Linked DNA regions of Homo sapiens: regions 1, 3 and 4 are each linked to region 2. The links are contacts of gene promoters, found by promoter capture Hi-C in blood cells and fetal thymus (Javierre and others, 2016). All regions are on one chromosome and are shown on one strand. Each heading gives the region's core, a stretch centred on a gene start or on the middle of the fragment in contact. The rest is flanking DNA. Distances are from core to core; before and after follow the strand shown.

Region 1 (5,658 bases), core at 3,106-5,605, 6.0 Mb before region 2:
GGCTCCCACATTAGACAAAGCATAACCCCATCCTCCAGAGTCTCATTCACTGCAACGGGGTTAGGAGGGAATCTTGGGGAAAACTGTATGAGGTTAGGAAGGGACCTTGGGGAAAACTGTGTGAGGTTAGAAGGGGACCTTGGGGAAAACTGTGTGAGTTTAGGAGGGTGACAGCATGGGAGTATTCCTGTCTATTCATTGTGGAGAGAGACCTAACCCAGAACTAAGACCTCTACCCGCCATTTCTACTGCTGCCATCCCGTGTTAAGAGCTGAGCATACAAATCCTTGGGGAAAACTGTGTGAATCTATTTCTTCCTTTAATTTCTTTCTTTGAATGCTTTTATAAAAGTAGCCCATGCTCATTTAAAACAACACAACTTAGAAATATGTTATGTGGATACTGAAATTCCCTAACGTCTCCTTCCTCCCAATCCTCCCAGAAATGAAAACCACGATAATTAGTAGCAGACACTTATATAACATTACTATGTGGTAACTGTCCTAAGTGCTTAACATTTGTTAACTCATTTAATCCTTACATCATTCTTATAAGGTATATGCTATCAGAGTCCCCATTTTATAGATAGGGAAACTGAGGCACAGGAAGGTAAAGTAATTTGCCCCAGGTCACACAGCTCCTGAGCAGTAGGGCTGGGGTTTGAACTTTGGCAGTGTGGCTTCAGTGTCTACATCACTGACCTCTGTGGTATTTCCTCCTGCTTATGACTGAGGGTAGAATCCTCTGGTCCTTTTTTCCCCAAGCTAACACATCACACCCTCATTGTAACCACGGAAATGAGGATTTGTACGCTCAGCTCTTACACGGGATGGTAGCAGTAGAAATGGCGGTAAGAGGTCTTAGTTCTGGGTTAGGTCTCTCTCTGCATCAGGCACATACTGGAGGCAGCACACTAGAAAAGATTATTTGCAGCTACAGAAAACTGAGTTCAAATCTCAACTCTGCAATATAGTGGATCTGCACCTGTGGGAAATTACTTGACCTCTCTGGTTTTTTTTTTCCTACTGGGAAATGGGGCTACTATTATCCCACTATTGCGAGCACTGAAAAGATAGTGTTCACAGATGCTTGTTAATAGTTTTCTGCTCTTCCATCACCTTGTTGGTGAAACAGCATTGACAGCTTCTAGTGGGTAAGGACATCCAAGACAGATTCAGCACACACAGATTTGGGGGCTTGGTTCAGGGCAGGCACACAATCAGCTCTTAGTGAACTAACAAATGAACAGCTATATACCCAACCCTGACTACTCCCTCTCATGTACTACTCAGATGCTGAAGTGAGAATATACAGATTATTAATAAAAACCAATTATTTTAGACATTCACTTACAATATCATCTAGCTGCAGACAGACAGGATCTTCATCTCTCCCAAACCTGAGAACCAACACCTTCTCAGCAGTACTTTTTATCGCCTGGTCTACTTCCTTTTTGCTAGTCAGCTTGGGCAGTAGGAAGCTCATCTTGAAATAACCCAAATGTGAATCCTCACTGTCACTCCTGAAATAAAGGTGCAATGTTTAAAGACAGTTTAGATTAAGTGCGTGAGCCCTCATTAAAAAAAATTAATTCACAGAGTAGCTAATGTATTCACATGGTATGAAAGAAACATCATAGAAAGGTAACACTGTGGAGTTTCCCTCTCTTTGTCCCTGCTCCTTGGAACCAGTTTTCATTGTTCCCTCCCCCGGGCCAGATAACTGCTTTCATTAGTTTCTCATGTATCTTTCAGAGTTTTGTTATGCATTCACCAAAAAATACAAATATGCGTTCCGATATTTTTTTTCTCTCTCTCCCCACCCCCAAAAGATAGCCTATTGTATCAGTGTTCCAGCAGGAAAGCGATGACACTCTCAACTTTGGTAATTTGAAGGCAGTTTAATTAAGGCAGGTGTAGAAAAACAATACGGTAAAGTGTACTACTTTGGGGCTAGTAACAGCGGGATGCTGTACCCATCCCTAGGCCATGGGAGGAAGAAGCCACGGTAGGAAGCAGTTATAAGAATTGTGTGGCAGAAAGAGGTGAGTGGAGAGGACAGTGTATAGGAGGGCAGCCTGCTGTTAGGTGTTGCAGCCACTCTCCTCCCTCCCTCTGACCTTTGCTCATGCAACCACCGGCTGACTCCAACTGGAACCAGAGGGCAGGGGCCTGTTGAGGCAGGCAAACCTCCCTGTCCCAGAGCAGTCTAGAGGAGGATGAAGAATGGCTGTGGAGGGACCAATGGCAGATGTTCAGCACACACACTTTATCTACTCTTCAGCACTTTTCATTATTTCAAACCTAACCTATGAAGATTGCCCCATATCTCTATATAGAGAACATCCATATTCTCTGTCATGGCAGCATATTATTTCTTGCATGTGTTACACTTTTTAAACAGTCCTTTATTGTATACTTTATATTATTACAAGTCCTGGCTTAAAGATTCTTCGTGTGCACCTTACTAGGTGCACCTCATTACACGGCAAACAGATCAATTAAGAGTGTGTGTGAAAACTACAATACCATAAACAAATAATAAAATACTGAGGTACAAGGGACCTAATACAACCCCGTCATTTTACAAACTAGCTTGCTTACAGTTGCACTTTCTACTACAATGACAAGGACTAGAATACAGGCCACCAAATTTCTAGTCCAGGGGTCCTTCTACTACAATAATCTATTTTCATGATTGGTAGAAATTTCATTTTTGAGAAACTCTTTGACAAAGAAGCTTAGTTTTGTGGTCATCTATAAGAGACTCCATTGAGATGGTCGGTATTTTGAATTCAGTTCCAAATATGAAAAGGGAGGATTTCTTTTCCTATTTTTTTTGTCACAAGTCACATTTTAAGATACGAATTAGGCCAGGCTCACCCCTGTAATCCCAGCACTTTGGGAGGCCAAGGAGGGTGGATCACCTATGGCCAGGAATTCGAGACCAGCCTGGCCAACATGGTGAAACCCCGTCTCTACTAAAAATACAAAAAATTAGCCGGGCGTGGTGGCAGATGCCACCTGTAATCCAAGCTACTCAGGAGGCTGAGGCAGGAGAATTGCTTGAACCCTGGAGGCGGAGGTTGCAGTGAGCTAGGATCGCTCCACTGCACTCCAGCCTGGGCAAGGCAACAAGAGCGAAGCTCCGTCTCCAAAAAAAAAAAAAGGAATTATTTAACTAAAATTCACATAGGAAATAAGATTGTTCCAGCTATAGGTCATACTTTAAACAGGGACATTGATGGCCCAAAGGGACGTCATCAGATGTGAGCAGCAGAACAAATTACCAATGAAAGGGAAGGTCAAAGAGAAGACGGATCTGTCCCACTAGAATTCAAACAAACAGCAGTTCCTCCGTGTTACTGATCGAAAGGAGAAAGTAAGGGGAGAACAAAGTTGTTAGTGGTGAGGCTAGGGGTGCAACTGGACAAACGTTGGAAGCAGGAGAGGAAAACTGAGACCACATCTAAGAAAATGTCCATAGTAAATGATACCCACAGAGAATTCCCAAAAGAAGACGTACAAATGGACAGTAAATAAACTAAAAAGTTAAGCTTTACCAGTAAGCAAAGAAAAGCAAATTAAAACATATGTTTACAAAGTCACTGAATTGGCAAAAATTAAACAAGATAGTGGTAGGGGCAGGCACAGGGAGTTCCTGCTGGAATGCAGACACAAAACCTTTCTGGAAAGAAAACTGACATACTCTTTGACCAATAACTCCACTGCTTTCCTCTCTCCCTCTCTTTTTCTGAGGCGGGGTTTCGCTATGTTGCCCAGGCTGGTCTCAACTCCCCAGGCTCAAGCAATCCTCCCGCCTCAGCCTCCCGAGTAGCTGGAACCTCAGGCGCGCGCCACAACTGCAGAAACACCAAAAAAAGAAAAAAAGCTTGAACTCACTTTTGTACAGAATCTTACTACAATGTATTCCAGAAAAACAACTGGAAATCAGTGGTCATCTCTGCGTGTGAACGCATGGGTGATTTTTATTTACAGCCGGGCGCGCATCTCCATTTTCCAAAATATCCGATATACATATTTAAAGTCACCTGTGTTGCGCTGCTCCTGGCCCACAAGCGCTAAGGGACCCCAGCACTTACCTTACTCGTCCACGCCGCCTCACTCCCTTTCACTTTGTGGCTGTCAGCAACCACTTCTCGGAAGAGCCCGGGCGCGGACAGCTCCTTTCATCAGCCCCAAGCCGGACAGGACCCTAAGACCAAGTCACCCAGGGGCTGTTGCCTAGCAACCCTCGTGGCCCCGCTAGCGGGAAGGAAACCGAACAGAAAACGCACAAGCGCAGAAAAGAAACTCCTGGCCGTCGGTCGGCCCCCGCTCAACAGCCCAATAAACGGAAGAGCTTCTAGTCACCGCCCACCTTGCTCGGCTCTGACCGGAAGCTAGGCGTCACCTCCGCCCGTATTAAAGATGGTCGACCTTTTTCCCCTCCTTTTCCTGCCCCCAGACTAGAGGCGGGATGTAGTCTCTTAGGCTAAGAGTGATTGGTCACAAGGAGACTCGGAAGTGTCTGATCAGAGCCCCAGAGGAGGCCTTGAGAGCCTGTTGGCGTACCGTTCCACACTTGGATCCAGGAATCGGGCGTGTTCCAGGCTGCTCTCTATGGTAGCTTTGGGCGGATAGAGGGGGCGCGCAAAGTATTAAGGGACAATAATGGCCGCTTTCAAGGTGTGGATTTTGGCTCCTTGAGCCTGTCTGAGCGAGGGGTGGCAGCGCCGGCGCCCCAGAATCCGGGACAGAAGGGTCCCAAGAGTCGCGCTTGGTGAGGTGAGAGTCCCTTCTTCCTTCCTGGCCTGCCCTTCTGTAATCATGGCGGCTCTAGGCGGCGGATATTGGTCCCCTGCTCAGGTCCGGGCCCCAGTTTGGGGAGTTCCTCTGTCGTCCCTGTCACCCACCTTGCCTTACTCACCTCAGGGATGCTGCATCCGTCCTGGCCGCCTTGGCCTTCCTCCTTGCTCTGGTCAAATCCTGCTGCCTGGAGCGGCCTCGCTGAGATCCAGGGATGCTGCCTGGAGTGGCCTTGGTCCCTCTCCCAGGCCTCCGCTTTAACCCACCCCAGACTGTCACCGAGCCCGAGTAGGACTCCTTGTGTCTTCCTCTGCTCTCTCACAGTGTCATTTATACCAGGCAATCTGGTGGGCGATCTCTTCTACTAGAATGTCAGCTCCAGGTGGGCGGGGATTTTTGTCTTGTTCTCTGTTGCTATCGCCGAGAACAGCAATTGGCTCAGGGACACCCTCAGTGAATAATTGTTGAATGAATGAATCCAGGTTCTTTCTTCCCTGGCTTTCTCGTACGCCTTGTAGTTTCTTTGCCATTAATCCTTCTCAAGAATCTTGCTCTTTAGCTCCTTATTTGTTCGTCTCAGCAGCTAATGAAGTTCTCTCTGGCTGTCTCCTTGTCCTGTGTTGCTGGAATCTTCCCTTGCTGTCTCCAGAAATGTTTGGGTTCCTGTCCTCCTTTAATAAGTTTAAATTAATTCATTTTTTAATTTATCAAACGCTTATTTTGCTAGACATTGAGCTACAGCAGTCAACAACACATCCAGTGTTCTCTCAACTGCGTAGAATGGCAGTCCAGGGTACCTTTCCTAGTTTAGACAACTATTGAGTAGAGCCTGTATATCTTTACCTTCTTG
Region 2 (6,073 bases), core at 1-2,500:
TTTTATTTTCCTTCCTTCCTTCCTTCCTTCCTTCCTTCCTTCCTTCCTTCCTTCCTTCCTTCCTTCCTCCCTCCCTCCCTCCCTCCCTCCCTTTCTTTCCAGATTCTGGACCTATTCCAGACTTACTAAAGGAAATTCTCTAAAGGTGAGGCAGTTTTTTAAAGACAGCAGCTCTCTCTGTCGTCCATGCTGGAGTGCAGTGGCCCGATCATAGCTCACTGCAGCCTCGACTTCTTGGGCTCAAGTGATCCTCCCCCTTCAGCCTCAATGAGTAGCTGGGACTACCGATGTGCACTACCACGCCCGGCAAACTAAAAAAATAATTATTTTTGGTAAAGACAGGGGTCTTGCGATGTTGCCCAGGCTGTTCTCAAACTCCTGGCCTCAAGTGATCCTCCTGCCTCAGCCTCCTAATGTGTTTGGATTACAGGCATGAGCCACTGAGCCCGGCCTAGCTACCCTGTCTGAGTTGTGCCCACTACACAAAGGTGTCAGCTACATGTGATGTCTGTGCATTTCTGGCCTGGACCGCACATTAAGTGCTCCGTAAACATCAGTCTCTATTATCAACAGTCTCTATTATCAATCAGTCTCTATTATCATCAGTCTCTATTATCATGAGTCTCTATTAAACAACAGTCTCTATTATCACAGTCTCTATTATGTGTTTTGGCTGAAAGAAAGTTCTCTAAAACCAGGAAATCAGGAATCAGCAGTTTTAAGTTCTCCAGGTTATATTTTAACATTGTGTTCATATGCAAAACAAAGGTTGTGAATCAGCACGAATGCTGGCAAGCCCTGGAAGGTTTGTGATCACGGACTTTCACGAGACCCCAAGGCAAGGAGAGACAGAAGCCCAGGACAACAGCATGGGCGCCGCTTTTTAGTCGGGCGCCGCTTTTTGGTCAGGCGCCACCTGGACTACATTTCCCATATCCAATTGCCGGGCTCCTGCAGGATTGGCCAGAACAACGCGGAAGTGATTACGGGTCGCCCAGCAACGGGCGGAGTCCTGGCCCGAAACTGGATGCGCACGCCCCTTCCCTGCGGCGGGGAGGCTGACAAGGCTCCGCTCTATCTCTAGCGCCTCGGAGCGCTCTCCGGCTTTGCTGTCTAGCCCGGCGGCAGCGCGATCTCTTAGGCACTTTCACCGCCTTCCTCTCCAGGCCCTGCCCCTTTGACGCCGGCCGTCGCGATATTGCGGAGACTGGATTTCAGCTTCGTGGTCGGCGGAGCGGCCCCTGGAGGGCGCAGTGCGCAGGCGTGAGCGGTCGGGCCCCGACGCGCGCGGGTCTCGTTTGGAGCGGGAGTGAGTTCCTGAGCGAGTGGACCCGGCAGCGGGCGATAGGGGGGCCAGGTGCCTCCACAGTCAGCCATGGCAGCGCTGCGCTACGCGGGGCTGGACGACACGGACAGTGAGGACGAGCTGCCTCCGGGCTGGGAGGAGAGAACCACCAAGGACGGCTGGGTTTACTACGCCAAGTAAGGGGGCCGCAGTGGGGCCGCGGACGCACCTGGGACCCTGCACAGCCCACGGACGCCACCTGCGCGGGGAGGACGCGCACTCCAGCGCAGCGCGTGCGGTGCAAAGTGAAAGTAACTGTTAAGGAGCTTCAGGGAAAAGGGTCCAGGGTTCCCAGTAGGGGCCGGCCCCCTTGGTGGGCCTCGGGTCCAGCGGGGGTCACCTGGTGGCTTCCCGGCGCGCCCTCTGCTGTTCAGGATGCAGCACTGCGCGGCGCGGCGAGGGCAAAGCGGCCTCATCCCCGCCAAAAAATAAAGATGTTTTAAAAAGCGCACATGCTCAGCTCCCTCCTGCAGGCTCTGGGTTGCAGGGATAGGAGTTTTGTTGTGTTTTGTTTTGTTTTGTCCAGACCGGTATTGCTCAGTCATCCAGGCTGGAGTGCAGGGGTGCCATCATAGCCCACTGTAGCCTCTACCTACTGGGTTCAGACAATCCTCTCATCTCAGCCTCTTGAGTGGCTGGGACTACAAGCGTGCACTACTATGCCCGACTAATTTTTTAAGTATTTGTAGAGACTAGGGTCGCACCATGTTGCCCAGGCTGGTCTCGAACTACTGGGCTCAAGCAGGCCACCTGCCTCAGCCTCCAGAATTGAGATTACAGGCGTGAGCCACTGCGCCTAGCCAGGAGTATTTTTTAGTAGCAGTCCTAGATAGCTTCACTATCATTTCCTGGGAAAGTTTTGGAAACCCCAGCAGAGCCTTCATCTTTAACTGTGTGACCTTGGGCCATTGAAATAACGTTTAATCTTGGTTTTTTCACCTGTAAAATGGGTTGATACGAGGGTCAGTTCAGGCACTGTGCGTAAAGCACATAGCACCGTGTCTAGTAGGTACTCTCTGTTCCTTAACTGTCGTTCCTTGATTGCTCTTAAGATACGACAGTGCCTCTTATATCGGCACCTTAGAATCACCTAGGAAATGTCCTAAATACACGTTTTGGGTCTCCATAGAGAACCTACTGTAGCCGACTCTCAACTTTGGGAGTCTCTTTTTTTAAGCTTTCCAGGTGAGGTGGAATATCACCTGGTTTTGAGAAACATGGATGTAAATCTGATTTTCAGCATCTGGGAAACTTTTTTTGTAAGAGCCTTTTTCTGGGCCCCACTTCCAGAGGGTTTTTCTTTTTTTTTTTTCTTTTGAGACGGAGTCTTGCTCTGTCGCCCAGGCTGGAGTGCAGCGGCGCGATCTCGGCTCACTGCAGCCTCCGCCTCCCGGGTTCACGCCATTCTCCTGCCTCAGCCTCCCGAGTAGCTGGGACTACAGGCGCCCGCCACCACGCCCGGCTAAGTTTTTGTGTTTTTAGTAGAGACGGGGTTTCACCGTGTTAGCCAGGATGGTCTCGATCTCCTGACCTCGTGATCCTCCCGCCTCGGCCTCTCAAAGTGCTGGGATTACAGGCGTGAGCTACCGCTCCCGGCCTTTTTTTTTTTTTTTTTAAAGACAGGGTCTCGCTCCGTCGCCCAAACTGGAGTGCCGTGGTGCGATCTCGGTTCACTGCAACCTCTGCATGCCGAGTTCAAGCGATTCTCGTGTCTCAGCCTCCCGAATAGCTGGGATTACAGGCGCCCGCCACCAGGCCTGGCTAATTTCGCGCTGTTGGCCCGGCTGGTCTCCAACTCCTGGCCTCAAGTGATCCGCCCACCTCGGCCCCCCAAAGTGTTGGCATTACAGACAGGAGCCACTGCGTCAGCCCAGAATTTCTGATTTAATTGGTTTGGCCCCTCCCCTCTCCCTTGGTAGGTTGTAAAATCTTCCCTCCCAGGTGATTCTAATCTATGCAAGGATGTGAACCACTGCTGCCTTTGGTGGCAAGGTAGAGGAAAAACAACCAAGTTCTGATGAGTTCATTCAAGACACACACAGGTATTATGTGACAGGCCTTTGGCTGGCACTGGTTATACCGAGGCAAATAAGAGCCAGTTGTCATCCTTAGGACCCAATCTTATTAGGGCACAGTGACATGTGTAGGAGCGTCCCCACGCAGTGTGTATACCAGGAAGTAGTGTGTCTGGCATGAGGTGTGTGTAGGTAGTTGGGGGGGTCGTGAGGGAATATGGTGGCACCCTCACAGTAACCTTCACTTCCTGGGCTCAAGCGATCCTCCCGCATCAGCCTGTTGAGTACCCGGGACCACAGGTGTGTGCCTCCACACCCAGCTAATTATTACATGTTTTGTAGAAATGGGGTCTCACCATGTTGCCCAGGCTGGTTTGAACTCCTGAACTCAAGCCAGCCTCCCTCCCGAAGCACTGGAATCACAGGCCTGAGGCACTGTGCCAAGCCCAGAGCGGTGTTTTGAGCTCAAGTAGAGGTGGGTGGGGCAGGAGGGCAGTCTAGGTAGAGGGAACAGTGAGAGGAGAGACCCCCTGCATGGCCTGTCCAGGGGCCTGTGATCTTTGTGAGGGTCCAGGAATGTGAAGGTTAAGGCAGGGAAGGGAGGACCCATTTCAAGGATTTCTGTGCCTTGCCGAGAAGCTTGGGCTCTGTTGGCAGAGCCAGAGAGTGGCATTCATTCAGCTTGTGAATTCTGGAAGAATTTCTGGCTCTGGAGAATTAAAGGGACATTTCCAGCAGCAGAGCTCCAGTAGCCTTTGCAGGGACGGAGGCAAGCTCCTGAGCGGGCACTTGCTGTTCCTCTCACCTGTACATCTGTTGGGGAAAGGCTCCTTCTCATCCTTCAGAGCTGAGCTTACATGTCACTGCCCAAGAGACCTTCTTAACTGTGGGTGTCCCCTCGACCTTGTACTAGTCACCTTGTTTCTCTGCTTCTTCGTGCTTAGCCTTGGCTGTGTACTCCTCCTTGTTGGCCCTGTCTCCCTTGCCCAGGTTGCAGATGTCATGGGGCAGCTTGTTCATCTGAGTGTCCCCAGTGCTTGGCACCCAGAAGCCATAAGATGAGCCCCTGTGGGATGAGTAAATGAATCACCTTGGGAGGGTCAGCCGCAGGCTTCTGTGGGTGGGTGGGTGGTGCACTGGGCCCCAGAGTACAAAGATGCACATGACCCGCTTCCGGCTTCCTAAGCCCACCTCTGCCTCTGGCTCTGTGGGGCGTCTCCTCCTTTGCCACTCAGCCCCAGAGGTGCTTCTGCTTCCCTGCAGGCTTGCCCTGGAGCCTGGCGCTAGGGCCCTGGGGCTCCCTTGCTCCTGCGTGCCCCCTGCGCCTGCCTTCCTGCTGCCTGGCCTTTCTCCCATCTGCTTTCTTCCTGAGTGGCCCCTGGCCAGGGGACTCGGGTGCATACATGGTTTCCAAACGCCTTTCCTCCAGCCCTCCCGACTAGTGTCTTAAATCTCAAGCTGGCCTCTCTGGCTCCGCTGTTTTTTTTTTTTTTTTTTTTTTAATTTAATTTAACTTTAAATTCCGGGATACATGTGCAGGATGTGCAGGTTTGTTACATAAGTAAACCTGTGCCATGGTGACTTGCTGCACTTGTCAACCCATCACCTAGTTGTTCAGCCCCCCGTGCATTAGCTATTTATTGTATACACCAGCTGAGATGCCAGGGCTTGGCTGGCTCTCAGCTGGAGGGCTCACTCTCTGGACCTTGTGTCCGTCCCTGCTGGCCCTCAGTTCTCTGGATCAGGGTTGAAAGGCTGAAATTCTTTGGGTGTTAGCTTAGGATGCCTCTGATCCATCCTAACCCGACATTCCCTTGATCTCTCCTGATCTGTGAGCATCCTGGCCCTTCTTTTCTTTTCAGTTTTAATTTTTGCGCTGGCTCCAACCCCTTTTCATTCCTGACTCTGGAAGTGACACTTGTTTTTCTCTTGGGGTTTGGGAAACTTTGTGGTTGTTCTTTCTAGGAGGCTGCTCTTTGAGTCATTTCTTTTCCATATTGTTTCTCCTACTGTAGCAGGGCCATGGCCAGGGATAGAGGCTGTAGCTCCCACTGAGACCTCGGGGTCTGGTGGAACCCGGTCTTGTGTGGGTGCTGTCGGCCTCTCCTGCTTTCCCACCTGCCTCACGGTTCACTTGTGTGCCTCAAAGGCACACATGTCCTAGCACTCCAAAGCCCACCAGGGTGGGCTCCCAGGGGTGAGGTCGAGGTAGACCGGGAACCCAAGAGAGCTGGTGGGCCTTTCTTCTACCCCTCTCCCCTCACAGTCTCAGAGCAGCCCCTTCATGGGAGATGGGAAGTGAGGGACAAGGTCTCAGTGTCAGAGCCGTCCTTGTTTGCCCTTCCCCGTGCCTCTTATGAAGCTCAGGCCTTTTGGCAGTCAGAGGCCTCAATGGTGCCTGTGTCCACAGGGCTGGCTGTCCTCACCGTGAAGTCTAGATCTCCCTGCTAACTTACACTGTGCTCAAAACACACACACACACACACACACACACACACACACACACACTGGCTGTCCTCACTGTCAACTCTAGATCTCCCTGCTAACTTACACTGTGCTCAAAAAACACACGCACGCACGCACGCATGCACGCACATACACACACACACACACACCCATAGGCTGGCCATGGTGGGAGGCCAAGGTGGGAGGATCGCCTGAGCCCAGGAGCTCGAGGCTGCAGTGGGCTATGATTGCATCACTGTACTCTAGC
Region 3 (5,960 bases), core at 849-3,348, 5.7 Mb after region 2:
GTAATCCCAGCTACTCAGGAGGCTGAGGCAGGAGAATCGCTTGAACCGGGGAGGCGGAGGTTGCAGTGAGTCGACATGGTGCCACTGCACTCCAGCCTAGGCAACACAGCAAGACTCCATCTCAAAAAAAAAAAAAAAAAAAAAAAAGTCTTTTAAGAAAACTGAGATACTGGCATCTAGTAGGTAGAAGTCAGAGATGCTGCCCAACGTCCTACAATATACAGGGTGCCCCCTCCACCACCAACAATAAAGAACGACTTGACTCAAATGCCAGTATTGCAGCTCTTGAGAAACTCTGCTCTAAGCTCAAAAAACTCAGAGAATTCTAGAATGGTGAGAAAAAAGGAGAAGATGCAGAGTCAGGAAGTCCTGCGTCTCTTACTTCCTTAATTTGATGACCTTGTTCCAGTTTCTTAACGCCTCTGCATCTGTTTTCTCAAAAATGTAAAATTATGATAATTATATCACAGGGTCTTCTGAGGATTAACTTAAAACACTGAGATATTTTTATTTCAAGTAGTCGGGTAAAGCACTAGCCAAATACCAGTTGACAACAGCCAATTACAAAAAAGTTGTGTATACTTACACAGAAAGGAAGATCTCTCTATAGGAAAGGATGAGGTGTGAAGGGTGAGGGGCAAAGGTGTGAGTGAGGGGGAAGGGGTGGTAAAGGGAGTTGAAGTCTCATGCCTCAAGGCCAACTGGATTCCGGGTTTGTTAGAGACACTGGTGGGTCTGGCAGAGGCGTTTGAACAAGAGCAACTCCATCTCGAATAGGAGCTGGGTAAACTGAGGCTGAGAACTACTGGGCTGCATTCCCAGACAGTTAAAGGATTCTAAGTCACAGGATGGGATAGGAGGTCAGCACAAGGTACAGGTCATAAAGACCTTGCTGATAAAACAGCTTGCGGTAAAGAAGCCGGCCAAAACCCACCAAAACCAAGATGGCAATAAGAGTGAACCCTGCTTGTCTTCATTGCTACACTCCCATTACCGCTATGACAGTTTACAAATGCCATGGCAACGTCAAGAAGTTACGCTATATAGTCTAAAAAGGGGAGGCATGAATCACCCACCCCTGGTTTAGCATATAATCAAGAAATAACTATAAAAATGAGCAACCAGCAGCCCTCAGGGCTCTGTCTATGGAGTAACCATTCTTTTATTCCTTCATTTTCTTAAACTTGCTTTCACTTTACAGACTCGCCCTGAATTCTTTCTTGCATGAGATCCAAGAACCCCCTCTCTTGGGGTCTGGATCAGGACCCTTTCCCGTAACAGCTCTAACACCTTACAGCCTCTCCCTAGCTAAAGTCAAACTGGAGCTGACCCCTCACATAGCACAGTCCTTAAATGAGATGTGTGAAAGTTTCCAGAACATGCCAGGCCCGCAGTCAAGGACTCTCCTATCCCCTTGCCATGAGACCCAATCCTAAAGACCACCTGTGGGGTTGGAACTTGAGGTTCCAAATCAGCAGTGCCCACCTCCTTCAACACCCAAACCCACAGTCTAACCCTGATGCCGGAAGCCTTCCCCACTCAACAGCAGGCATTGCGTGGAGTGAAAGAAGCCAGGCATGATGGACAGCTTCCTGTCTGAATCCCCTCATATGAACCTGACGGGCACAATGAACCTACTGGGCTAAACTCCAGACGCTGGCCACCTTCATAGGGTGGAGATGACAGAACAGGACAGGAGCCATGGGGCTCCCGGGGCGGGTAGGGGTGGGTCATGTTCCTTGGCTTGGGGGCAGTTACAAGGGTACAGTGGGGCTTGTTGAAGGGCAAAAGTTCTGTAAGTTCGTCCCGACAGGCCAAAGAAACCCCAGAGCCGTCTTTCGACTGACTACAGCCTGGAAGAGAGGCCAAGACCACTCCCTGCCTCTATTGCTCCATTTCTGAGTTGGTCTCACTTTCCACCCCACTGACGGCGCGCTGCGTGAGGGGCGGGGCATAGAGGGAGGGGAGGGGCTATGCGAAAGAAGGCGGGGAGAGTGGGGTGGGGCCGCTCCTTGGAACGGAAGCGCGCGGCCTCGAGGCCCTTCCGGTGCGGGAGAAACTACTACTCCCATAATGCCCCGCGGTCCCGCGAGCTGCCAGTCTCGTCGCGAGAAGCAGCGGCCCGGGGCGACTGAGCGGACAAACGGAAGTGTAGGTTACGGTCTGAGACATCACCGCCAAGCTGGGCATCGGGGAGATGGCCGAGACTGACCCCAAGACCGTGCAGGACCTCACCTCGGTGGTAAGGGACGGCTGTGAGGGCCGGAGGCCGCGGCCTTCCCGGGCGGCGCCGGGCCAAGCCCTGCTGGACAGAGGCGCGCCCACCGCGGCCGCGCGTGGCGTCTGCCGAGGCCCCGTTTCTGGAAGCGTCTCTGGCCGAGGCTCCCGGCCACCTTGACCCCCGGGGCGCTCGGTGCGGGCCAGTCTCCCCGCGGGCGCCCCCAAGCCCGACCCCTTCCAGTAGCCCCATTCATCTGTCGCGAACGCCCTCCGGGTCCCTCCCGCCTACCTCTGACACCCTCCCCGCCCTTCAACTCCTCACACACCCCCGGGTGCCCCAGCCCGGCAGAAACAACCTAAAGACCCTGAGCTTTGAGTCGCAGCGGCCTCCCCAGCCCAGCAGTCTAATTGGACAGGTTGGAAAACGGAAGCCCAGAGAAGGAAGATCTTGCTGAAGGCCGCACAGCTGTCCAGAGGCAGAAATGGGGCTGGAACCCCGGGACCAGGGCTTGCGTCCTGATCCCAGGAAGTTGTCTCAGGATCGATGTGGACCGTGTTTGTTTGTTTCGGTTTTTCTTAGGTGCAGACACTCCTGCAGCAGATGCAAGATAAATTTCAGACCATGTCTGACCAGATCATTGGGAGAAATATCCTTTTTATCTGCAGTCGGCCTCCTGTGGGCCTTTGGAGCCTATTTGCCGGGCAGTGGTGGGGATAAATGAGTAGTTTTCAGGCTAGCTTCAGCCATTCACTTGTAGAATTTGAGCTTGGATTGTACTGTGTTTCTGAGAAGGACTGCGCCGAGAGCTAGGGGCAAAGCTGAGTTAGACTCCTGGCTCAAGGAGCATACGTCTACCAATCCTAATAGCTGGTGTGGTGGACCATGCACTGTGAACTAAGCGCTTTTGTGTGTGTCTTTTGATGCTCAGCATGACCTTATGAGTGGGTTGTAGTGTTATCATCTTTAGCAAATGAATAAATTGAGGTTTAGGGGTTCCATCACTAGTAAGGGTCAGGGCTGGAATCCGATGCGGGGTAGCCATGCCCCACAGTCCTGTACTCTTACCCACCAGCGTGTAACAGTGTCGAAAGAAAATTGGAAGACCAGTTTCCCTAAAGTCGTTGTGTTTAAGGCTGTAGTCTGCAGGGACGGGAGGAAAAAGGCTCAATGAGATGTTGGCACGCGTTGTCTTTAACTTCAGCACTTGATGATATGAGTAGTCGCATTGATGATCTGGAAAAGAATATCGCGGACCTCATGACACAGGCTGGGGTGGAAGAACTGGAAAGTGAAAACAAGATACCTGCCACGCAAAAGAGTTGAAGGTGAGGAAGGGGGCAATTTTTTTTTTCTTTTCTTTTCTTTTTTTTTTTTTTTTTTTTTTTGACACGGAGTTTTGCTCTTGTTGCCCAGGCTGGAGTGCAATGGCACGATCTCGGCTCCCTGCAACCTTTGCCCTCCTGGGTTCAAACGATTGTCCTGCCTCAGCCTCCCGAGTAGCTGGGATTACAGGCTTGTGCCACCACACCCAGCCAATTTTGTATTTTTAGTAGAGACGGGGTTTCTCCATGTTGGTCATGCTGGTCTCGAATTCTGACCTTGAGTGATTTGCCCGCCTCAGCCTCTCAAAGTGCTGGGATTACAGGTGTGAGCCGCCGTGCCCGGTCTTTTTTTTTATTTTGTCTTAAAAGAATAGAGAGAACCTGTAAGTATAATTTGTATGTAGTCAGACATTCTGTAGATCAGTTCCCAGCCATGATCCCAGCAAGCATCACTGTATTGTTTACCTGCTGTGGACTTGATGTTTTGAAATTTTTCATGCCAAACTCATTCTTTACACCGAATTTATTTTCCCAGTTTTTATTAATTAGACTTCTGTCACTATTAGTGAAGACCACTGGCTAACATTAGATAACCACTGAGTTTTTATCATTCCAGCTAATAATTAAGGTGTCTTTTTGTTGGCCTATAAAGCCTGTCACTGGAAGATTTTCCATTGCTTTTTTTTTTTTTTATGGAAATAACTGATAAGTCACCCACATTACCACCTTCTTAAATGGCTTAAATTCTGGAGACTTTCTTGGTAACTTGACATAGGTGAACTAGATTGTGGCCACATTAAGCTTTTACCCTGGAGTTCATTTAAATTTCCTCTGAATAGTTTCAGATGTCAGAGGAAAGCCTAGTAATTCAAAGTACCTACACAGCAAGATAGGTAAATGTACAGAATCACTCAGCAGAGTGCATGGTGATCCTTTTCCTCTGTATGTGTGAAAAATAAGTTTTAGACTCACTTTTCTCTTGTTTCATTTATAACATTTTAATTCTCTATAAAAATGAATGTTGCTGAGGGAGGCGGAGGTTGCAGTCGAGGTCACGCCACTGCACTCCAGCCTGGGCGACAGAGTGAGACTCTGTCTCAAAAAAAAAAAAAAAAAAAAAAAGGTACTGGTGCGTGGTGACTCATGCCTGTAATCCCAGCACTTTGGGAGGCAAAGGCAGGCAGAGGGCAGATCAGTTGATGTGAGGAGCTCGAGACCAACCTGGCCAACATGGTGAAACCCTGTCTGTACAAAAATTAGCTGGGTGTGGTGGTGCACGCCTGTAATCCCAGCTACTTGGCAGACTGAGACAGGAGGCAGAGTTTGCAGTGAGTCGTGATGATGCCACTGCACTCCAGCCTGGGAGACAGAGCAAGACTCTGTCTCAAAAAAATAAAATAAAATGGTTCCTGAGTATTTTTAGATTCGTAGAGTACTAAGCAGAATGTACAGTAAAACATGCCTAATTTCCTATTTTCTGGGCTTGCTGTGGACCACATTTTAAGTCACTGTGAAATACAGATTTGGGATGTTGAAGACAGACTCTAAAATTTGCTTTTATCTTCACAGTAGGTGGGGTTCATTCACTGTGTGAGTAAATCACATAACTGCTTTCTATGGGTTATGTCATCGTTATTCTTATCCAGAGATAATTTGGAAAAATGTCCTACCAGTCTCAGATGCTTCTGTGGGTCTCTTTTTATATTATGTGGCAATCAAAACTGCCATCAACTGACTGATTATCTTACCACAAGAATTTCAGGATGGTAGACTGGCTAGTGATGGGGGTCATTCAAAGAAAAGAGTGGGAGTAGGAAACTGACTCTGAAACTTTTAAAGATATTTCCAGTTAAATCTATTGCTAAAATATTGCCAGAAGAAAATAAGTTTAACTCAGTAGGAGAGTGGAAAGGGATTTGTAGTTGATAGGTCTATATGTCATTTTTACTTGTGCTCATATAATGAAAAACATGTTGATGATTTTTCCTTCTTCAACAGGTTGCTAATAATTTATACTGGAATCTGGCATTTTTCCAAGCCAAGAGAAGATCGAATGGCTTTTTGCAGCTAACTACTATGTGTAGACAGGTTTTATATTATAAAGTATGCATTCTTATCACCTAGTATATAGTTAGTTTGTAGAGTGATTTCCCCCCAGTTTCTTGAACATGGTATCTTCACATCTTGGACCTTGGTCAGTTGTGCTATTCATTATTAAACACTAAAACTTTGGCGGTTCTTGCATAACATTGTCAGATTTTTTAGTGTATTTCTGTGAAGTCATTTTTTTTCTTGTCATTCCTTTTGTAGTAGTTGCTGTTTGGATAAAAGTTGATGTGTGATTTTTTATTAAACAAATAGTAAACCCTTCAATTATAGTTAGTCTTGGTGAAGTAAGATGTTTGTAGACTTTAGAG
Region 4 (5,788 bases), core at 82-2,581, 5.4 Mb before region 2:
GTGGCTTAAACAACAGAAAGTTATTTTCTCACAATTCTGGAGGCTAGAAGTTCAAGATCAAGGTATCAGCAGGGTTGGTTTCTTTCTGAGGTCTCTGTCCTTGACTCAGATCACTGTCTCATCTCTTTGTCTTCATGTGCTGTTTTCTCCATGTGTGTGCACACCTGTGTCCAAATTTTCTTTCCTTGTAAGCACACCAACCCTACTGGATTTAGGCCCGTGTTAAAGACCTCATTTTAGCTTAATTACCTCTTCAAACACCTTATCTCCAAATAGGGTTACTTTCTGAAGTACTAGGGGTTACACCTTTAACATATAACTTTTGGGGAGACTCAAGGCCATAACAGTAGCCAAGACTCAAAAAGCAGAAATGATTGGGAGCAATTATCTGTCACCTTTCAGAACTCCCATTTTTAGACCTATAGATAGCATAAATGTGTAAGTCAGATTAGTGTAAGATAATAGGAAGTGGTAGGGCCTGTGGCAATTCAAAGTATATTTGCCCAGACAGAAGACATTCAAATTAAAATTGTAAACAACCCTCCATCCCCACCCGAGCCATCCAAACAAAACAGTTTGGCTGGTTTTGACTTACAGGTTATCAGTTTGCAAAAACCACCACCATGTTACTTCGTTTGGAATCATAACCTGATGGTGGATATTGGACATATTAAGTATTTTTATTGCATATCCAAATACATTTTTCCCAGACCCCATTGGTTTATGCACAGCTTTTTTTATTGAGTACTTGTTGTGTTAAAGGAACTGTACTAAGTGCCATGCAGGGATTAAGATCCATACGTTTGGCTACATATATCCTAGAGTTACAAGGACCTATTTTTGAGATCATTTATTAAATACCTAACTTTACAAAATTTAATTTTTTGTGTAACTTTATCGTGTAAATAAATTTGAACTCCAAAAAAAATTTCTTGTCAGACTACATGCACCACAAAGACCAAGACTGTGGCCTCAAGTACAAGGGTAGAGGAAATGAGACAAATAAAAAAATAATTATTGAGCAAGATGAAAGAAGACCATAAGAGGATTATAGATAAAGTGCTATGGAAGATTACAGGACAAACAGATTTCATCCAGCTGGGTGTGGTGCTGAAGGTATTTAATGCAGTTCGAATTAATCTTTTCATGGCACTTGGTACCTCTAATATATCATTAATCGGCATATTATATGGTAGCTATTTGCTTATGTTCATATCCCTCCCAGTACGTTCTGAAATACACAAGAATGTCATAATCTTTATTTGTTCCAGTCTAATGTTATTCAAAAGCATCTAGTGTTACCCAAAGGAGTCAATTGGGGAACTTTTTAAAAAGAAACTTGTCTTAATTCTAGCTCTGAAGATTGTAATTAAGTAGGCCTGGAGAGGTGGTGGAGGATCTCTATTTTGAAAAGTTTTCCCTCACTTAATAAATCTGGTGATCACACCATTTAGAATCTACTGCCCTAGAGCACCTAGTATATAGTATGCTCTCAGTAAATTGTTGTCACATTAAATGAGCAGAGCTGCAATTTAGTAAGATTAATAAGACTCCAGTGTGTAGGATGAATTAAAGTGGGAAATATCCTAAAGGCAGGAAAATCCTATTACAGATGTCCAGCTAAGAGATGAAGCAGCCCTGAACTAGGGTAGAGACAATAGGAGATAAATGGATGAGAAACACTGAGAAGGTAGAATGAGCAGACTTAGGTGAAAATTGATATAATGCAGTAGTTCTCAAAATGTAGTATGCCTAAGTCTTACATGGGTTGTTGATTTAAAAAGATTTCTGGGATCTATCCTTGAAAACCTTTTCAGCTAATTCAGGGTAAAGCACATGAATCTAGCATTTTTAACAACCCTTCTTCATGATTTTGATTTAGATTATTTAAATTAAAAACCTCGATTTAAGAACACACTGATCTATTAACCATAGTGAGTAGGGAAGAGGGACTATTGAAAAAGAATTCTAAAGATTAAATCTTGAGCGACAGGGAATATGATAAGCCATTAATTCGGCAAGTAAGAAATGTCATTTAAGAGCCTGGAAAAGAGGTATGAGTGAAGAAAAAATTGGAAAATCTTTGTTTAATAAAGATTTCTAAGAGATCAAAGAAAAAGAAAATGGTTATACAGAGAATTGAGGGAGTATTTCTCCTTTTAGAGACCTTGAAAGAGGCAGCATATGAAACAAAGTGGAAAGAAAAACAAACTGGCAGAAACCAAAAACAAGAGTCTCAAGCAAATAATATTTATAGCAGGTGAATAAGAAATACAGGGGTTGTGTGGATGTAGAGAGGTTTCTGGAATTGACCTGTATCTGTATTGTTGAATAGAAGAAGTTCTATAGAATGTTGGGGTTTCTACGAGTTGAAGAATAAATTCACAGCAAAATCAAACCTAGGTGATTAAGCATAATTTATAATGTGGAAAAAAGAGTGAGAAATTATTATAACAAAGAGGTGACCCCTCAAGTTACTTGTAATTCATAGAGGTTTTTTTTTTTGGTTTTTTTTGAGACAGTTTTGCTCTTGTTGCCCAGGCTGGAGTGTAATGGCGCAGTCTCGGCTCACTGCAACATCCGCCTCTCCAGTTCAAGAGATTCTCCAGCCTTAGCCTCCCAGGTAGCTGGGATTACAGGTACCCGCCACCATGCCTGGCTAATTTTCTTATTTTTAGTAGAGACAGGGTTTCGCCATGTTGGCCAGGATAGTCTCGAACTCCTGACCTCGGGTGATCCACCCACCTCTGCCTCCCAAAGCGCTGGGATTACAGACGTGAGCCAATGTGCCCAGCCGAGACTTCCATTTTTTATAACAAAATAATTTTAAGAGCAGAATCAAAGGAAATAAAAAGTGAGAGATAAAATGGCCGTGATAAAATTAATAGTAATCATTCATTATTAGCCAAACATAGATTTTTGTAAGGTTCTTCTTGAATAGTAGGGGAAGGTAAAAGAAATGAATTAATAAAATTGATTAAAAGTCCTCTTTTTAAGAAGTAGAAGAAAACAAAAGAATAAAGGTAATTTGAGGAATGGAGTTTTTAAATTTTAAAGAAGAAAAATAGTTGGAGGGAAAATAATATTTTTTCTAGGTTTAGCAACAAACTAGTTTTATAAACATTGCATGTTATATGCCAGTCTTATAAGCTATTTATAAGTAGATAGTGACTGTGGTGGTCAACTATATAAAAGATCTGGCATGCCTCTTACAAGTTGTGTATACAACCTTGGTTAAGTTAGTCCTGTTCTATAAAATGGAAAATAATAACACCTGCCTTATAACATTAAATAAATGATATAATGTTAAGTATGTGCCAACTATATAAAGCATTCAATAAATGGTAGCTATTTTTATTAAGTGAATGACCTTATGCAATTTACTTAACTGCTCTGAATTTTTAAGTTTTTTTTTTCTGTCAAATGGGATTAGTTGTCTGATGTTTTTATAGGGTTATCAAGAAGATTAAGTTATTAGAAAATTAGGGTTATTAGAAGATCTTGTAGTATGAATAACACATAACACATAAAAACACTCAGTAAATGTTAAATACTGTTATCAAAAATCTCAAAATGACACGTATCACAATTTTCACAGTGCTTTTAAATATATTCTTCATATAGTCTTTTCAACAATATTGTGATAGTCCCTTTTACAGATGAGATGCAGAAAGCTTGAGCAACTTAGTGCAAAACAAGCAGTCCTCTTATTTCCAGGCCCGTTCTCTTTCTCAACATGCATTTAACTCACAAGGCTTCTTTTTTTAACTTTCTGTCTTGAAAATTTTTTTCAATTCTTCAGCTAAGACAGCAGAAGAGATGATTTATTGTATACTGTTACACTCAGCCACAGCTTATTTTTTAAATATTAGATTTACATGTAGTTGCAGTTAGTAATAGTACAGAAAGATCTCTTGTATCCTTCACTCAGTTTCCCCCAGTGGTAACTATATCTCGTATAACTATAGTACAGTATCACTATCAAGAAATTGACATCTAGTGACCTTATGTAGAATTCACAGGTTTAACATGCATTTGTGTGTGTGTGCATTTAGTTCAATACAGTTGTATCATGTGTAGATTCATGTTACCTCCACTACATTCAAGATGTAGAACTTCAGTCACCACAAGTATTCCTCATGCCACATTTTTTTATAGCCACAACTGATCCTCCTATACCCCAGCTGCTAACCCCTGCAAATCACTAGTCTATTCTCCAGGTTTACAGTTTTGCCATTTTGAGAATATTATATAAATGGATTAACCATTGTAACCTTTTGGCATAGACAACTTTTATTTTTTAATAAGATTTACATTTAATTTATGTCAAAAATAAAGACATCTTAAAACGTAAGCCTTCTCTCTGTTGGAACAATGGATCTCTTTCTAAGTTCTTGGCCTACATGTTGTAAGAGAAGAATTGGATGAACCACATGACAGAAATTAACAATGACAAAGACTCTCAAATTTCAAATCTAGATACACATAGTTCTTGGATTTTTAGATGACACAACTTTTTCCTTTTAAAAATGGTTCAAAAAACAAAAGATGGTTCAATGGCCATTGCCTGCCTTTCTTCTCAAAATGCTTTCTTGTGAAAATGCACCTAGTTGTACATCTTGGGTGGATTTTTACTGTCACATCAGTGACTATGGAAAAAGAAGAGTGATATCCTGGAAAATTGTGGAATAAGAAGTTTCAGAGCTTGGTCTTCTAACAAAACAACCACTAAATGTGAAAAAGGTATTATCAACTATTTTAGAACTCTGGAAACTGATTGAACACTTACAGCAACCTGAGGAGTGCTTGATGAAGAAAAGTATAACTGAAATGCAATAACATTTCATTGCAATACAGCTAGCAATCCCCTTTCTTCTACCCTGCTGCAGCCATGGGGATAGTAGTCTGCATTTCTGGAGTAGCTGGCTATTGCCAGGGGTGGCAGTAAGGAACTTTTCCTACAAATTTTAGGAGTTGTGCATTTGGTCAGTCTGGCAGTTCCCTAAGGAACCAGCAAAGACACTTTTTATTTTTCAGCCCCCCTGGCTTGTAGCAGCTTTCTCATGGCAACTAACAGAAAATGTAAAGGAACACACTCTTTTCTCTCTCTCTTTGGATCCATACATTTAATTAAATCTCTGTCAGGTCAGTGCCTGACTACAGCAATAACAGAAGAGAAACTTCTTTATCCACATAAAATACTGCAGCCTTAAGCAAGCAAAAATGAGCAATCCATGAAGAGCAGTAGAATCTGATTTTGAGAGTTACCACGTTATAGTACTCAAGATGTCTAATTGTCTAATTCTCAACAAAAAAGTCACCATATAAAGAAACAGAAAAGTATAGCCCATTCATGGGAATTTTTTTTTTTAAAAGAAGTTTTACAGAAACCATCTCTGAGGAATACTAAACATTGGAGTTACTAGTCAAAGACATTAAACCAACTCTCTTAAAATGCTTAATCAGTTAAAGGGAAACTATGGACAAAGAACTATGGAAAATCAGAAAAACAATGTATAAGGCCTGGCACAGTGATGCACACCCGTAATCCTAGTGCTTTGGGAGGGTAAGATGGGAGGATCACTTGGGGCCAGAAATTTGAGACCAGTGTGGTCAATATAACAAGACCTCCAATCTGTACAAAAATTAAAAAAAAAAAATTAGCCAGGTCTGGTGGCACATATCTGTAGTCCTAGCCACTTGAGAAGCTGAGACAGGAAGATCCCTTGAGCCCAGGAGTTTGAGGCTGAACTGACACTGTACTCCAGCCTGAGTCACAAGAGTAAGA

Evidence for each region. The method cuts DNA at HindIII sites, captures the fragments that hold promoters and counts their contacts. A CHiCAGO score of 5 or more calls a contact.
Region 1: a contact is called between the fragment with the promoter of TXNL4B here and the fragment with the promoter of WWOX in region 2, in 2 of 17 cell types (naive CD4 T cells and total CD8 T cells). The highest score is 6.0, in naive CD4 T cells.
Region 3: the fragment with the promoter of HSBP1 here is called in contact with the fragment with the promoter of WWOX in region 2 in 9 of 17 cell types (total CD4 T cells, naive CD4 T cells, naive CD8 T cells and 6 more); the score reaches 14.7 in total CD4 T cells.
Region 4: a fragment that was not itself captured here is called in contact with the fragment with the promoter of WWOX in region 2 in 1 of 17 cell types (naive CD8 T cells); the score reaches 6.3 in naive CD8 T cells.

What each region holds. Positions count from the first base shown.
Region 1 is chr16:72,089,265-72,094,922 of GRCh38, forward strand. It overlaps TXNL4B (thioredoxin like 4B), which reads right to left and starts at 4,356. Exons shown (of 4, transcript NM_017853.3): 1 at 4,103-4,356; 2 at 1,354-1,522. The coding sequence starts at 1,485. It overlaps DHX38 (DEAH-box helicase 38), which reads left to right and starts at 4,583. Exons shown (of 27, transcript NM_014003.4): 1 at 4,583-4,787. RefSeq lists enhancers at 4,129-4,458, 4,469-4,518, 4,579-4,878. The HindIII fragment of the contact is 4,501 bases long and covers 3,890-5,658 here.
Region 2 is chr16:78,098,404-78,104,476 of GRCh38, forward strand. It overlaps WWOX (WW domain containing oxidoreductase), which reads left to right and starts at 1,251. Exons shown (of 9, transcript NM_016373.4): 1 at 1,251-1,482. The coding sequence starts at 1,376. RefSeq lists an enhancer at 1,485-1,984. The HindIII fragment of the contact is 3,217 bases long and covers 1-2,520 here.
Region 3 is chr16:83,805,880-83,811,839 of GRCh38, forward strand. HSBP1 (heat shock factor binding protein 1) reads left to right here and starts at 2,099. Exons shown (of 4, transcript NM_001537.4): 1 at 2,099-2,242; 2 at 2,801-2,867; 3 at 3,426-3,546; 4 at 5,542-5,960. The coding sequence starts at 2,198. The coding sequence ends at 3,544. RefSeq lists an enhancer at 1,893-2,394 and silencers at 2,052-2,228, 2,246-2,535. The HindIII fragment of the contact is 4,790 bases long and covers 1-4,342 here.
Region 4 is chr16:72,667,061-72,672,848 of GRCh38, forward strand. The region is part of intron 1 of ZFHX3-AS1 (ZFHX3 antisense RNA 1); the gene reads left to right. Among named protein-coding and RNA genes, the nearest start is that of ZFHX3-AS1, 4.8 kb to the left of the region's middle. The HindIII fragment of the contact is 4,681 bases long and covers 1-3,672 here.